5 separate regions of the Homo sapiens genome follow, and all the other regions are linked to region 1. Evidence: promoter capture Hi-C in human tissues and cell types (Jung and others, 2019). All regions are on one chromosome and are shown on one strand. The core of a region is centred on a gene start or on the middle of the fragment in contact, and the rest is flanking DNA. Distances in the headings are between cores, read along the strand shown. Region 1 holds the start of PTGIS (prostaglandin I2 synthase). Region 2 overlaps SLC9A8 (solute carrier family 9 member A8). Region 3 overlaps SPATA2 (spermatogenesis associated 2). Region 4 has its middle 15 kb from the start of SNORD12. Region 5 overlaps DDX27 (DEAD-box helicase 27).

What was found. Contacts are between HindIII fragments. The study calls those that stand out against the background at their distance.
Region 2: a contact is called between a fragment that was not itself captured here and the fragment with the promoter of PTGIS in region 1, in 7 of the 25 tissues and cell types used here (H1 embryonic stem cells, IMR-90 fibroblasts, dorsolateral prefrontal cortex and 4 more).
Region 3: a contact is called between a fragment that was not itself captured here and the fragment with the promoter of PTGIS in region 1, in 1 of the 25 tissues and cell types used here (lymphoblastoid cells).
Region 4: a contact is called between a fragment that was not itself captured here and the fragment with the promoter of PTGIS in region 1, in 1 of the 25 tissues and cell types used here (dorsolateral prefrontal cortex).
Region 5: a contact is called between a fragment that was not itself captured here and the fragment with the promoter of PTGIS in region 1, in 1 of the 25 tissues and cell types used here (dorsolateral prefrontal cortex).

Annotation. Positions count from the first base shown.
Region 1 is chr20:49,566,770-49,569,469 of GRCh38, forward strand. It overlaps PTGIS (prostaglandin I2 synthase), which reads right to left and starts at 1,368. Exons shown (of 10, transcript NM_000961.4): 1 at 1,274-1,368. The coding sequence starts at 1,347. LOC101927486 (a long non-coding RNA gene) reads left to right here and starts at 1,275. Exons shown (of 2, transcript XR_244188.4): 1 at 1,275-1,404. RefSeq lists enhancers at 1,668-2,284, 2,285-2,700. The HindIII fragment of the contact is 24,721 bases long and covers 1-2,700 here.
Region 2 is chr20:49,834,944-49,837,643 of GRCh38, forward strand. All of the region lies in intron 3 of SLC9A8 (solute carrier family 9 member A8), which reads left to right. Among named protein-coding and RNA genes, the nearest start is that of SLC9A8, 23 kb to the left of the region's middle. RefSeq lists enhancers at 1,128-1,628, 1,629-2,129. The HindIII fragment of the contact is 7,659 bases long and covers 1-2,700 here.
Region 3 is chr20:49,910,597-49,913,296 of GRCh38, forward strand. All of the region lies in intron 1 of SPATA2 (spermatogenesis associated 2), which reads right to left. Among named protein-coding and RNA genes, the nearest start is that of SPATA2, 3.6 kb to the right of the region's middle. The HindIII fragment of the contact is 3,455 bases long and covers 1-2,700 here.
Region 4 is chr20:49,293,990-49,296,689 of GRCh38, forward strand. No RefSeq gene overlaps it. Among named protein-coding and RNA genes, the nearest start is that of SNORD12, 15 kb to the left of the region's middle. RefSeq lists enhancers at 1-170, 171-1,104, 1,105-2,037. The HindIII fragment of the contact is 7,192 bases long and covers 1-2,700 here.
Region 5 is chr20:49,238,148-49,240,847 of GRCh38, forward strand. It overlaps DDX27 (DEAD-box helicase 27), which reads left to right. Exons shown (of 21, transcript NM_017895.8): 15 at 802-908; 16 at 1,089-1,191. Among named protein-coding and RNA genes, the nearest start is that of DDX27, 20 kb to the left of the region's middle. The HindIII fragment of the contact is 3,226 bases long and covers 1-2,700 here.

The sequences.
Region 1 (2,700 bases), core at 118-2,617:
GTATGAAAACTAAAGGCAATGTGGTAACTTGGGGCCGGATCCTGGAACAAAAGAGGACAGTAATGGGAAACTGGATAAAATCCCGTGAAGTTTGAAGTTTAGTTAAGAGTAACGGACCAGTGTTGGTTTTTAGTGGCGACAAATGTCCCATAACAATGTAAGATGTTAACAATAGGGAAAACGGGGTGAGAGAAATACAGGAACTTTTTGTACTATCTTTGCAACTTTCTGTAAATCCCAAACTAGTCTCAAATAAAAAGTATATTTTTTTAAATATGGAAGGTTCTACCCAGACTCAGCAACAGGAGAGGCCCAGAGAGGGAGAGAGGACTAGACTTCAGGGGCTGGGGGAGGGTTAAGGGGCTTCGGTCTTACCTATAACAGGATAAATATTTGTGTTAAGTCGAATGTATTCAGCTATTCCTTATGCAATTCAAGTTAACTTAAAAAATATTTTATGAAAAGGAGAGCTACAGCTATCTCCTTGATTTGAGGCTGTCTTTACTTTTTCTCCTAAATCACAGATGCTCAATGGAGCTGGAAAACCTTTGGGACCAGGAGGCTGTGACATCTGACCCTGGCTCCGTTCTGTCCAGGCTGTGGGACCTCAGGGGAAGGTAGAGACTTCATAGGCCTCAGTTTCTCCCTGGCAAATGAAATTACTAAGCCCACCGACCCCCGTCTTCCAGACGGGGAATCCCGGGGTGGGTGGTTCCAGGGCATGATCAAGACATCCCCCAGGGGCTCTACACTCCGCTGGCTCAACACTCCCATCTGTGTAATGGGTTGAGGAGCGAGGCTATCCCTATAGGACTGCCGAAAGCAAGGCAGGGTTTGACAGCGCGTAGGTGGGTGCCAGGTGCAGGCAGAGGCTGGAGAGTGGAGAGCGCTTCTTCCACCCGGGCCACGCAGAGGCTGTCCCCGCACGGCTCCCCACCCACAAACCCTCGGTCCTCACCTGAAACCCCCTCCTAGGTCCCTGCCGTCGCGCTAAGGGCCAGACTCGGACTTGTCGCGGTGGGCGATTCGCCCCGGGGGACCTACCGGACCCCGCACCTTCCCACCTTGCACCTTCTTGGCAGGGGGAGCACGGCCTGGCCCCCTCACCCACGTGCGGGGCCCCGGGACTCCCACCTCCGAGGGTCTCGCCTTGCCCGGGATACTGGAGCGGGACTCGGGCCGGGCCGGCCGCGGGCTCCGAGACCCTTGGGCTGCAGCCCGGGCGGGAGCCGCCCCCTTTGTCTGGCGGGGCCGAGCGGAGCAGGACACTCACCGCGTGCGGCGGCGGCTCAGTAGCAGCAGCAGCAACAGTGCGGCCAGGAGGCCGAGGAGCGCGGCCCAAGCCATCGCGGGGCTGGCGGGGCTGGCGGGGCTGGCGGGGCTGGCGGCCTGGCCCACTCCCAGGTAAAGTTCCCCGCCCCCACCCGGCGCGCCCCTCCCACTCCGCCCACCCCAGCCCGCTTTGGGGCGGGGTGGGGGGGGTGGGGGATGGGGCCCTCCGAGGTCCGCAGGGGTCGGACCGGGGCGCTCTGTTAGAAACCCTGCTCCCCCCAGCTCAGGCCTGATGGAAAATGTGGGAGGGAGGGGAGGGGAGAAGGAGGGGGAGGGGGAGGGGGCGGAAGGGATGTGGTGGGCTGGGGAGTGATCAAGGGGAAAGGAGATAGATGGGGGACTGAGGGGGATGTGGTGGACTGGGGGGTGATGGAAGGGAGGGGAGAGGGAGAGGATTTACAGGAAGGAAGAGATTATATGCGGGGAGGGAAGAGGGATGGGGAAGATGGGAGAGGACTTTTGGGGAAGGGAAGAGGAGGGAATGTGGGAAGACGGCGGGACGATGGGGAAACAGCCAAGGAGGTATGGGGAGGAGGGGGCACAGTGGGAGGAGAAAATGTGGTGGGAGGGGACGAACATGGAGGAGGAGTGTAAGGGGGTCAGGAGGAGCTTTCCCACCACATTCCACATTCCACCTAGACAGAGGAAACCCCCCAAGGCTCCTCCTCACCCCATCCCCCACCCCAGGCGTGCTGGGGACCTGGAGTTTTCCATTCTGTGGTCTGGGCTGGGAGGGCTGGTCTGGATTATATCGCACCCTATAGTATCTTCAGTAACTACTGGGCAGGGGGTACAAGGGTGTCTCAGGGAGTCCCCTCATCCTCACCTGCTTTGGGGACAGATAGTGCCCGTGAAGTATGCACCCTCTACCTGGTGCACGTTAGGGCCTCCGGATGTGGTGGCCATTGTCATCGCTACCTGGTGCTTGGGGTGCCAGCCCCCTGTGCCCGCGGCTCTGCAATGTACCACCCCAGGGTGCTGATGAGAACTGGGGGTCAATCCAGCCTCACTCCACGCCCCTGCCCCCACCATCCCCATTCCCACCCTGGGAAGCGTTGGGCAGGTAGCTCAACCTCTCTGAGCTCACCTCATTATCTGGAAACAGGGAGGGCAGAGTTGTGCTTACCTCTGGGGCTGTTGTGAGGAAGTGATGAGAGCTTGACACTAAAAGGAATCACAAACTGTTGAGTGCTTGGCACACTAAGTTTTATGAAACCATGGGCTGAACCTGGAGGTAAGACCCAGGAGGTCTTGTTCTAGTCCTGTATCCACCCATTCAGTGCCGGGTGAGCTTAGGCACGTTTCATTCCATAGTCCCAGCAGAGCTCTGGAGAAGCTGTTGCTCCTCCTGGTCTCCTGGCTTCCATC
Region 2 (2,700 bases), core at 11-2,510, 270 kb after region 1:
ATGCAAATTGAATCAAATACAAATTGAAACATTAAAGTACAATTTCTTGCCCACTATGTTGGCAGAAATGTTAACATCTGATGATTATCCAGCGCGACTGAGGATGTGGGACGCTTTCTTGTGGAAGTGTAAGTCGGTACAACCACTTTGGAGGATAATTTGGCAATATTTTCAGAGTTAAAAATGCTTATGCTTTGTAAACCTGCCATTTGTAGTCTCTGGATCTGCCCTAGGGAGATAGTCTGGGTTTGTTTTTTTTTTTGTGAATGTCTTCCACAGGGAGATACTCTTAACACAGAGTGGCATGTACAAGCATGTTCAATGCAGCACCACTGTTAATAGCAAACAGCTGGAGGCAACCATCAGTGGGGCAATGGTTCAAAAGGTTGTGATTTTAAAAAAAAGGTACAATATAATTCACATATCATAAATTTCACCATCTTAAAGTGCACAATTCAGAGTTTTTTAGTATATTCACAGAGTTGTACTACCATCACCTCTACCTAATTCCAGAACATTTTCATTACCCCAAAAAGAAACTCATACCCATTAGCAGTCACTCCCCATTTCCACATTTCTCCCTTCTCCCATCCCCTGGAAACCACCAATCTACTTTCTGTCTGTGAATTTGCCTGTCCTGGACATTTCGTATAAAGAAATAGAATCATACAATCGGTGGTACTTTTTATTTGGCAACAGCTTTATTGAGATGTACTTTGTATGCCACACAATTCACTTTTTTTTTTTTTTTTTTTTTTTTGAGATGGAGTCTTGCTCTATCACCCAGGCTGGAGTGCAGTGCTACAATCTCAGCTTACTGCAACCTCCGCCTCCTGGGTTCAAGCGATTTTCCTGCCTCAGCCTCCCCAGTAGCTGTAATTACAGGTGCCCGCCATCACGCCCAACTGCTTTTTTTGTATTTTTAGTAGAGACGGGGTTTCACTATGTTGACCAGGCTGGTCTTGAACTCCTGACCTCAGCCTCCCAAAGTGCTGGGATTACAGGCATGAGCCACCATGCCCAGCCAATTCACCCATTTTAAATGTACAACAATTTTTAGTATGTTCAGAGTCGTGCAGCCATCACCACAGTCAATTTTAGGACATTTTTATCACCTCAAAAAGAAACCACATGCCCTTTAGCTCTCCTCCCTGTCCCTGGGCAACCATTACTGTCCCTGTAGATTTGTCTATTGTGGACATTTCATATAAATGGAATGGTAAAATATATGGTCTTTTGTGTCTGGCTTCTTTCACTTGGTGTATTTTCAAGATTCTTCCATGTTCTGGCAGGTACCAGTACTTCATTCCTTTTCATTGCTGAATAATATTACATTGTATGGATATACCACATTTTGTTTACTCACTCATTAGTTGATAGACATTTGGGTTCTTCCCACTTTTTTTTTGAAATGGAGTCTAACTTTGTCACCCAGGCCGGAGTGCAGTGGCGCAATCTCGGCCTACTGCAACCGCCGCCTCCCAGGTTCCAGCGATTCTCCTGCCTCTCCCAAGTAGCTGGGACTGCAGGTGCATACCACCATGCGCAGATAATTTTTGTATTTTTAGTAGAGACGGGGTTTCACCATGTTGTTCAGGCTGGTCTTGAACTGACCTCAAGCAGTCCACCCACCTGCGCCTCCCAAAGTGCTGGGATTACAGGTGTGAGCCACCACACCTGGCCTCTTTCCACCCTGTGACTGTTTGAAATACTGCTGTTAGGAATATCTGTGTACAGGTTTTTACATGAACATGTTTTCAGTTTCTTTGAGTAGAATTGCTGGGTCATAAGGTAACTTTTGAGGAATTGCCAAACTGTTTTCCATGGTGGTTGCCCCATTTTACATTCCCATCAGCAATGAGTGCGTGTTCCAATTTCTCTATATCCTTGCCAACACTTATTTCTCATCTTTAAAATTATAACTGTGAAAGGAAGACAAATCTTGGGACCCTAAAATCACTAAGCTAAAGGGAAAGGTCAATCTGGGAGCTGCTTAGGACAAACCTGCCTCCCATTCTATTTCTAAAAAGATAGCTACTAAGATAAAAAAGTTAACATACCTCCCTCTCAATTTGTACACAAGAAAATTCCTTGTGGACAAAGGACAGAACTCAAAGTCACCCCTCTCTTTGTTGAGATAAATGCATATCTGATTGCTTCCTTTGGAAAGGCTAATCAGAAACTCAAAAGAATGAAACTGTTTGTCTCTTATTTATCTGTGACCTGGAAGCCCCCTCCCTGCTTCTAGTTGTCCCACCTTTCCAGACCAAACCAATGTACATCTTACATTGTTGATAGATGTCTCATGTCTCCCTAAAATGTATAAAACGAAGCTGTGCCCCGACCACCTTGGGCACATGTCGTCAGGACCTCCTGAGGCTGTGTCAAGGGTGGTCATCCTTAATGTTGGCAAAATAAACTTCCTAACTTGACTGAGACTTGTCTCAGATACTCTGGTTTACATAACCATCCTAGTAGGTATGGAGTGGTATCTCATTGTAGTTTTTATTTGCATTTCCCTAATGATTTATGATGTTGAACATCTTTTCATGTGTTTCTCAGCCATTTGTATATCTTCTTTTCCAAAATATCTATTCAATTTTTTTTATTATTTTTATTTTCATTTTATTTTATATAATATTTTGAGTTGGAGTCTCACTCTGTCCACCAGGCTGGAGTGCAGTGGCATGATCTCAGCTC
Region 3 (2,700 bases), core at 61-2,560, 340 kb after region 1:
GGGCTGAGAGAAGCTGCAGCAGGACTGGGCCTGGCATGTGGGGGACTCCTTTAGCAGACCTGTGTTCAGCTAGGAAGGTCCTACGAGCCCAGCAACTATCAGGAGGTCAACAAAATCATCCTCATCTCAAAGAGCCAGTAGTCTGGCTCCTCCACAGATTTTGTCCCCAGGAGGAGACTCCTGGGAGTACTAATGGTGCGGTGAGAGGTGGGATGTGTAGCAAAACTAGGGACACAGAGAGGCCACTGTCTCCAACACACTGCACTGCTGAGGGAGCCCAGTGCTACAGTGACAAATAAGGCTGAGGAGTACAGGAGGCAAACACATCCATTTAGGGGCCAGGTGCGGGGGCTCACGCCTGTAATCCCTAAACTTTGGAAGGCCAAGGCAGGAGGATTGCTCAAGGCCAGGAGTTCGAGACCAGCCTGGGCAACATAGCAATACCCTGTCTTTACAAAAGAAAACAAAATCCACTTGGGATAAAATTCTGCTTCAGGAAGATTCTCATCATTCAGGCCTCAGCTCAAACATCAGCCTCTAGAGGTACCACCCTATCTCACCTTCCCAGTTCCACACTGTCACATTCTCCTACGATAACCACAATCTGAAACTATCAACTTCATTCATTCATTAGCTTCCTCTCTTTGTCCACCCCTCACCCTCCCTGGTAAGCTGGTAAGCTCGTGGTAAGCTCCATAAAGGCAAGGACCATGTCTGTGTTGTTCACCACGATGCCTAACACAGAGCCTGCCTGTGCTTGATAAAGTAGGTGAAATGGATGCTGCAGCCAGGCACGGTGGCTCACGCCTGTAATCTTAGCACTTTGGGAGGCCGAGGCAGGTGGATTGCCTGAGCTCAGGAGTTCGAGACCAGCCTGGGCAACACGGTGAAACCCCGTCTCTACCAAAATTTAAAAAAAAATTAGACGGGTGTGGCAGCATGCGCCTGTAATCACAGCTACTCGGGAGGCTGAGGCAGGAGAATTGCTAGAACCCAGGAGGCGGAGGCTGCAGTGAGCCGAGATCGCCCCATTGCACTCCAGCCTGGGCAACAGAGCGAGACTCCGTCTCTAAAAAAAAAAAAAGAAAAAGAAAAAGAAAAGAGAAAAAGAGAAATGGATGCTGCAAAGGATGTCTGCATTCACGATGCCATCACTTTAGTTTCTCATTGGTACCTCCCAAGAATCCTGGGAGATCAGCTGGAGAGCAAAGAAACGGGCTCAGAAAGATGGCATGAGGTACGACAAGTAGCTCAAGGTTAGCAGATGATGGACCCGATAATCCAAGCCTGGCCTTCTGACTTGGAACCTGTATTCCTCTCACCACCCCACGATTCCCATGTCCAGCAAGCATTTCTGCAGCCCCCACCCTCTGCCTGAGCTGGACCCAGTCGGGGAATGGGGATGGGTGGGACAGGTAGAGGACAGCAATAAAGGAGACACATCCTGCCTGCAGCTCTAGCTGGAAGAGCATACCACCTAGTATCAAAGTAGGTATGTGCTCTAACTTCATACTGTTCTGTCCATAAAAAAATAAACAATTTAAAATGTATATTCTCTTAAAAAATAAAAATGCAGGCCAGGCGCGGTGGCTCACGCCTGTAATCCTACAACTCTGGGAGGCCAAGGTGGGTGGATCGCCTGAGATTGGGAGTTTGAGACTAGCCTGGCCAACATAGCGAAACCCCGCCTCTACTAAAAATACAAAAATTAGCTGGACGAACACCTGTAATCCCAGCTACTCAGGAGGCTGAGGCAGGAGAATGGCGTGAACCCAGGAGGGAGAGGTTGCAGTGAGCTGAGATCGTGCCATTGCACTCCAGCCTGGGCAACAGAGCAAAAACTCCATCTCTACATAAATAAATGTATTGCACCACTGGAGAGGATAGTCACACATGCATTTACCATTCTTGACTTATCTAAGAGAAGCTGCCATCACGCCTCTGGCCCCAGGGTCTGTTTTTTGGTAGTCTGAGAACCATTCAAACACAGAGACATTAAGCTTCCGAATACTGCTGTAATTTTTCTCCAAGGAAGTCAGCCTTGAACTCAAAGAGACTGATTTTTTACAAAGTCAGCCAGTCTCAAGCTCGGCTCAGCGTCTGCTGCTCTATAATCGCACCACAGTCCACACCCTTGTTTGTTGCTGAAAAACAATAAATAAAGGAAAGGGATCCAAACAGCCCAGCTGATGTTCAAAATACTCACAATAAGGACAGGAAGCCTATCTAAAACAAATCTCAAACCAACCTGGGTAGGTGAGGGAAAAGGCGGAAGAAAGTAAAAGCTAAAAGATAATTAAGGGCAAGACAAGCCTGGACAACATAGTTAGACTCCGTCTCTACAAAAAAAAAAAAAAAAAAAATTAGGTGGGTGTGGTGACACCCACCTGTAGTCTTAGCTACTTGGGAGTCTGAGGTGGGGGGATCCACTGAGCCCAGGAGTTTGAGGCTGCAGTGAGCTATGATGGCACCACTGCACTCCGGCCTGGGTGACAGAGCAAGACCTTGTCTCAATCAGTCAATAAGGAAAGGAAAGAAAGAGACTAACAATTACTGAGGTTCTACTATGTGCTAAGCATTGGGCTTCCCACTTTACCTACATCATCCCATTTAATCCTCACAACTCTATAAGGAAAACAGGCTCTTCCCATTAAAACAACCTGCCCAACAGAGTTTGAAAGGGTCAGAGCTGGAATCTGA
Region 4 (2,700 bases), core at 10-2,509, 270 kb before region 1:
TCTCAAAACCCTGTCTCCTGATAAGATGTTATCAATGACAATGGTGCCCGAAACTTCATTAGCAATTTTAATTTCGCCTCGGTCCTGTGGTCCTGTGATCTCGCCCTGCCTCCACTTGCCTTGTGATATTCTATTACCCTGTTAAGTACTTGATGTCTGTCACCCACGCCTATTCACACACTCCCTCCCCTTTTGAAAATCCCTAACAAAAACTTGGCTGGTTTTTGTGGCTTGTGGGGCATCACGGATCCTACCAACGTGTGATATCACCCCCGGACGCCCAGCTTTAAAATTTCTCTCTTTTGTACTCTGTCCCTTTATTTCTCAAGCCAGCTGATGCTTAGGAAAATAGAAAAGAACCTACGTGATTATCAGGGCAGGTCCCCCGATAAGTAATAGTCATCTTCATCCGAGTGAAAAGGAATAAACTAGTGATTGTGCAACAACTTGGATGAACCCCAGAGATGCGATGCTGACTGAGGGAAGCCAGCCTCAAATGGTTACATGCTGTGTGATTCCATTTATTTGACATTCTGGAAAAGACAAAGGTATGATGAAGGGAAGAGATGATGGTGTTGCCAGAAGTTAGGATGGGTGGCGGATGTGGATGTAAAGGGATCGCACAAGGAAGTGTTTGGGGTGTCATGATTGCCGTAGTGGTTATATGAATGTACTGGGCCAGGCATGGTGGCTCACGCCTGTAATCCCAGCACTTTGGGAGGCCCAGGTGGGTGGATCACCTGAGGTTAGGAATTTGAGACCACCCCGGCCAACATCGTGAAACCCCATCTCTCCATCTCTACTAAAAATACAAAAATTAGCTAGGCGTGGTGGCGCGTGCCTGTAATCCCAGCTACTTGGGAGGCTGAGGCAGGAGAATCACTTGAACCTGGAAGGTGGAGGCTGCAGTGAGCTGAGATCGCACCATTGCACTCCAGCCTGGGCAATAGAGTGAGACTCCGTCTCGAAACAAAACAAAAACCCAGATTTATAGAACTGTACAGCAAAATAAAAAAATAGTTTTATTGTATGACAATTTTTTTATTATTTATTTTTGAGACAGGGTCTTGCTCTGTCACCCAGGCTGGAGTGCAATGGTGCGATCTTAGCTCACTGCAGCCTCCACCTTCCGGGTTCAAGCAATCCTCCCACCTCAGCCTCCTGAGTAGCTGTGACTACAGGTGCGTGCTACCACACTCAGCTAATTTTTAAATTTTTTTAGAGATAGGGGTCTCACTATGTTGCTGGAGTTGATCTCAAACTCCTGGTCTCAAGTGATCCTCCTGCCTCACCCTCCGAAAGTGCTTTTTAAAAATGTTAAAAACAAACATAGGCTCTGGAGCTAGACTTGGGTTTAAATCCCGGCTCTGTTATGTATTAGCCATTGGCTCAATCTTCTTTTTCTTTTCCTAGATTTTGCCTGCCTGAGCTCCTCTAGTAGTGGCCACAATTGCCAGAGAAGATAGAGCAGGTCTCTCCCAGGACTTGCAGCTCCAGCCTGTGTCTGCAAGGGGTGTTGTAGCGACTGATTTCTCCAGCCCATGGCAAGAGGCCTTCATCTTGTGCCTGGAAAGAGGGAAGTACAAGTCCGTCTGGCAGAGATGGTGCAGATGGGCAAGTTTTTCAGACACTGCAGCCAGCACTTCTGGGACCGCAGCAGTGGAGCCTGCAGAGGGCCGGTTCTCCAGGCATGGGCTACTGACATTGTCACTTCCAGACTCCTTATGCAATAAACAACCCCTAAACAGATTTATTCACAATTTCTCCATCCTAACAAGTCAGTGATCAGTTTTCACTTTTCCACATTCCCTTCTGTCCCCATTATGTTCCCATAGTGGGGCAGCTTCTACCTGCATGGTTGGAGCTTCCCATTTTTAAAGAGGCAAGAAATCCTTTAAAGTTCTTTGAAATGTTTGTAGCCTGTTCCAATTTTATAAACTGTGAAGACTGAGCAACACACAATGCATGGGCCTCATATGGCCTGGAGGCCACCAGTTGGAGACCTCTGTAGCTTGAGCTGTGTCCCTTTCAGCACTGTTCTTGTCATTCCTGAGCTGGGATGCCCCCTGAAACATAGGATGCTCAGTTAAATTTGAATTTCTTTTTTTTTTTCCTTGAAATGGAGTGTCGCTCTGTCGCCAGGCTGGAGTGCTGTGGCGTGATCTCAGCTCACTGCAACCTCCACCTCCCTAGTTCAAGTGATTCTCCTGCCTCAGCCTCCCGAGTAGCTGGGATTACAGGCATGCACCACCACACCCAGCTAATTTTTGTATTTTTAGTAGAGACAGAGTTTCACCATGTTGGCCAGGATGGTCTTGATCTCCTAACCTCATGATCTGCCCGCCTCGGCCTCCCAAAGTGCTGTGATTACAGGTGTGAACCACTGCGCCCGGCCGATGGCAATCATTCTTTAAGATGCAGCCTCCGTGGACCTCGTACCTTCTCAGTAATTTCCATATTCTTTGCTGACTTGGGTTTTTCCTCCAAAATTGTCTGGGATAAATTGAGGTTTGTGGAGTTTCCTGATGGCTAGTTTCCAAACTGGCTTCAAAGCCTGGGCTTGTGGAATTGGCTGGGTCTGCGGCCAGCCTAACCCATCCTTCGGTCACAGTCTCCCATGGTCCTGATATTAATTCATCACAGGTCTGTTTAGAAGGTGGCAGAAACAGACGGTCTTGGGCTTATTTATATCTGTGGCTT
Region 5 (2,700 bases), core at 105-2,604, 330 kb before region 1:
AGCTGGGACTACAGGTGCATGCCACCACGCCCAGCTAATTTTTATATTTTTAGTACAGGTGGGGTTTCACCATGTTGTCCAGGATGGTCTCGATCTCTTGACCTCGTGATCCACCCGCCTTGGCCTCCCAAAGTGCTGGGATTACAGGCTTGAGCCACTGCCTTATTTTGTTTAAGATAAGGTCTTGCTTTGTTGCCCAGGCTGGGGTACAGGGGTGCGATCATAGCTTACTGTTGCCTCGAACTCCTGGGTTCAAGCAGTTCTTCTCCTCAGCCTCCTGAGTAGGTGGGACTACAGGTGTGTGCCACCATGATGGCTAATTTTTTTTTTTTTTTTAGATGGAGTCTCGCTCTTTTGCCCAGGCTGGAGTGTAGTGGTGTCATCTTGGCTTACTGCAGCCTCCGCCTCGTGGGTTCAAGCAGTTCTCCTGCCTCAGCCTTCTGAGTAGTAGCTGGGATTACAGGCGTGTGCCCCCACACCCAGCTGATTTTTGTATTTTTAATAGAGACGGGGTTTCACAGCATTGGCCAAGCTGGTCTCAAACTCCTGACCTCAGGTGATCCACCTGCCTTGGCCTCCCAAAGCGTGGGATTACAGGCATGAGCCACTGTGCCTGGCTTTTTTTTTTTTTTTTTTTTTTTTTGTAGAGACAGAGTCTGGCCACGTTGCCCAGGCTGGCCTCAAATTCCTGGGCTCAAGCAATCCTCCCACCTCAATCTCCCAGAGTGCCGGGTTACAGGTGTGAGCCACCATGCCTGGCCTACCCTTATTTGTAAATCCTTTTTATTTTCTCCCATTGAGATGTCATCCTCAAATTCCGGGACAAGATTGAGAAAATGGAGAAAGATGTGTATGCAGTTCTGCAGCTAGAGGCGGAGGAAAAAGAGATGCAGCAGTCAGAAGCCCAGGTGAGGCTGCGAGGCGGGATCTTGTTCACAAGGCTGCTCAGTAAGCAAGCTGCTGCATCCCTGCTGGTGCTGCCCTTCTGAAATGTTTCTCCCATCAGAGCCCCAGGCATTTGCAGCCCGTGGCTTCCTGTGTTAGTAGATACGGGTTTCACGGCAGGCATCCTTTTGTTATCTCTACAGATCAATACAGCAAAGCGGCTCCTGGAGAAGGGGAAGGAGGCAGTGGTCCAAGAGCCCGAGAGGAGCTGGTTCCAGACCAAAGAAGAGAGGAAGAAGGAGAAAAGTAAGTCAGGGAGGTTCCGCAGAAATCTAAATACAGAATTACCCCACAGGACTCAGCAGTTCCATTTCCTAGTTCTATACTGTAAAGCAGCGGTCCCCAACCTTTCGGCACCAAGGACCAGTATCGTGGAAGACAATGTTTCCACATTTGGGGTGTGGGGGTTGCATTAGATTCTCATAAGGAGTGCACACCCTAGATCCCTCGCATGCGCACTTCACAATAGGGTTAGTGCTCTTATGAGAATCTAATGCTGCTGCTGATCTGACAGGAGGCCAAGCACAGGTGGCAATGCTTGGTTGCCCAATGCTCACGTCCTGCTGTGCAGCCTGGTTCCTAATACGCCATGGACTGGAACCGGTATGCAGCCTGGGGTTGGGGACCACTGTTGTAAAGGATGTAAACAGGGACTCAAACAGATACTTAGATGCCAGTGCTCTTTGAATTACTGTTCATAATAGCAAAAAGGTGGAAACAAACTATGTTCATCAACAAGTGAATGGATAAACAAAATTTGGGGTGTGTGTTTATATACACACAATGGAATATTATTCAGCCATGAAGTTCTGATACATGCCATAAGGATGAACCTTGAAAATCTTAAGCTGAATGAAATAATCCAGACACAAAGGGACAAATACTGTCTGATTTCACTTACCTGAGATATCTAGCTAGGCAAATTCACAGAGACAGAAATAGATTATAGATTACTTAGGGCTAGGGGAAGGGGGGTTATAGGAAATTATTAGTGGTTGCAGAGCTTCTGTTTTCAATGATGTCAGTGAGTAGCCTCCTGATAGGAGTTTTGGAAACAGATAGTGGTGATGGTTGTACAATGTTGTGAATGTAAGTAATGCCACTGAATTGTATACTTAAGATTGGGTAAAATGGCAGCCTTTGTTTTATATGTGTATATATAACCACAATAAAAATAATTTTAAAAAAGTTAGGAGATATTTAATACAGATTTCCTCTCCATCTCCCTTTAAAAAAGACCCAAAACACTTATAAGTTCACATTGTTCTATGCCTCGCCTTTTCACTTAATTTTGAAGCTTAGAGATATGTTTTATATAGGCCCACATATGCTGCCCTTTTTGTTTTTTGTTTTCAGACGGAGTCTTGCTCTGTCACTGAGGCTGGAGTGCAGTGGCGCAATCTCGGCTCACTGCAAGCTCTGCCTCCTGGGTTCACCCCATTCTCCTGCCTCAGCCTCCTGAGTAGCTGGGACTACAGGTGCCTGCCACCGCACCTGGGTAATTTTTTGTATTTTTAGTAGAGATGGGATTTCACCGTGTTAGCCAGGATGGTCTCGATCTCCTGACCTCGTGATCCGCCTGCCTTGGCCTCCCAAAGTGCTGGGATTACAGGTGTGAGCCACTGCACTCGGCCCCCTTTTTGTTTTTTTTAATGGCTTCATGTTCTTCCATCATATGAGTAGATTGTTGAGGGACATTGAGGTTGTTTACAATCATTTGTCATCCAGCCTGGGCAGCATGGCAAAACCCCATCT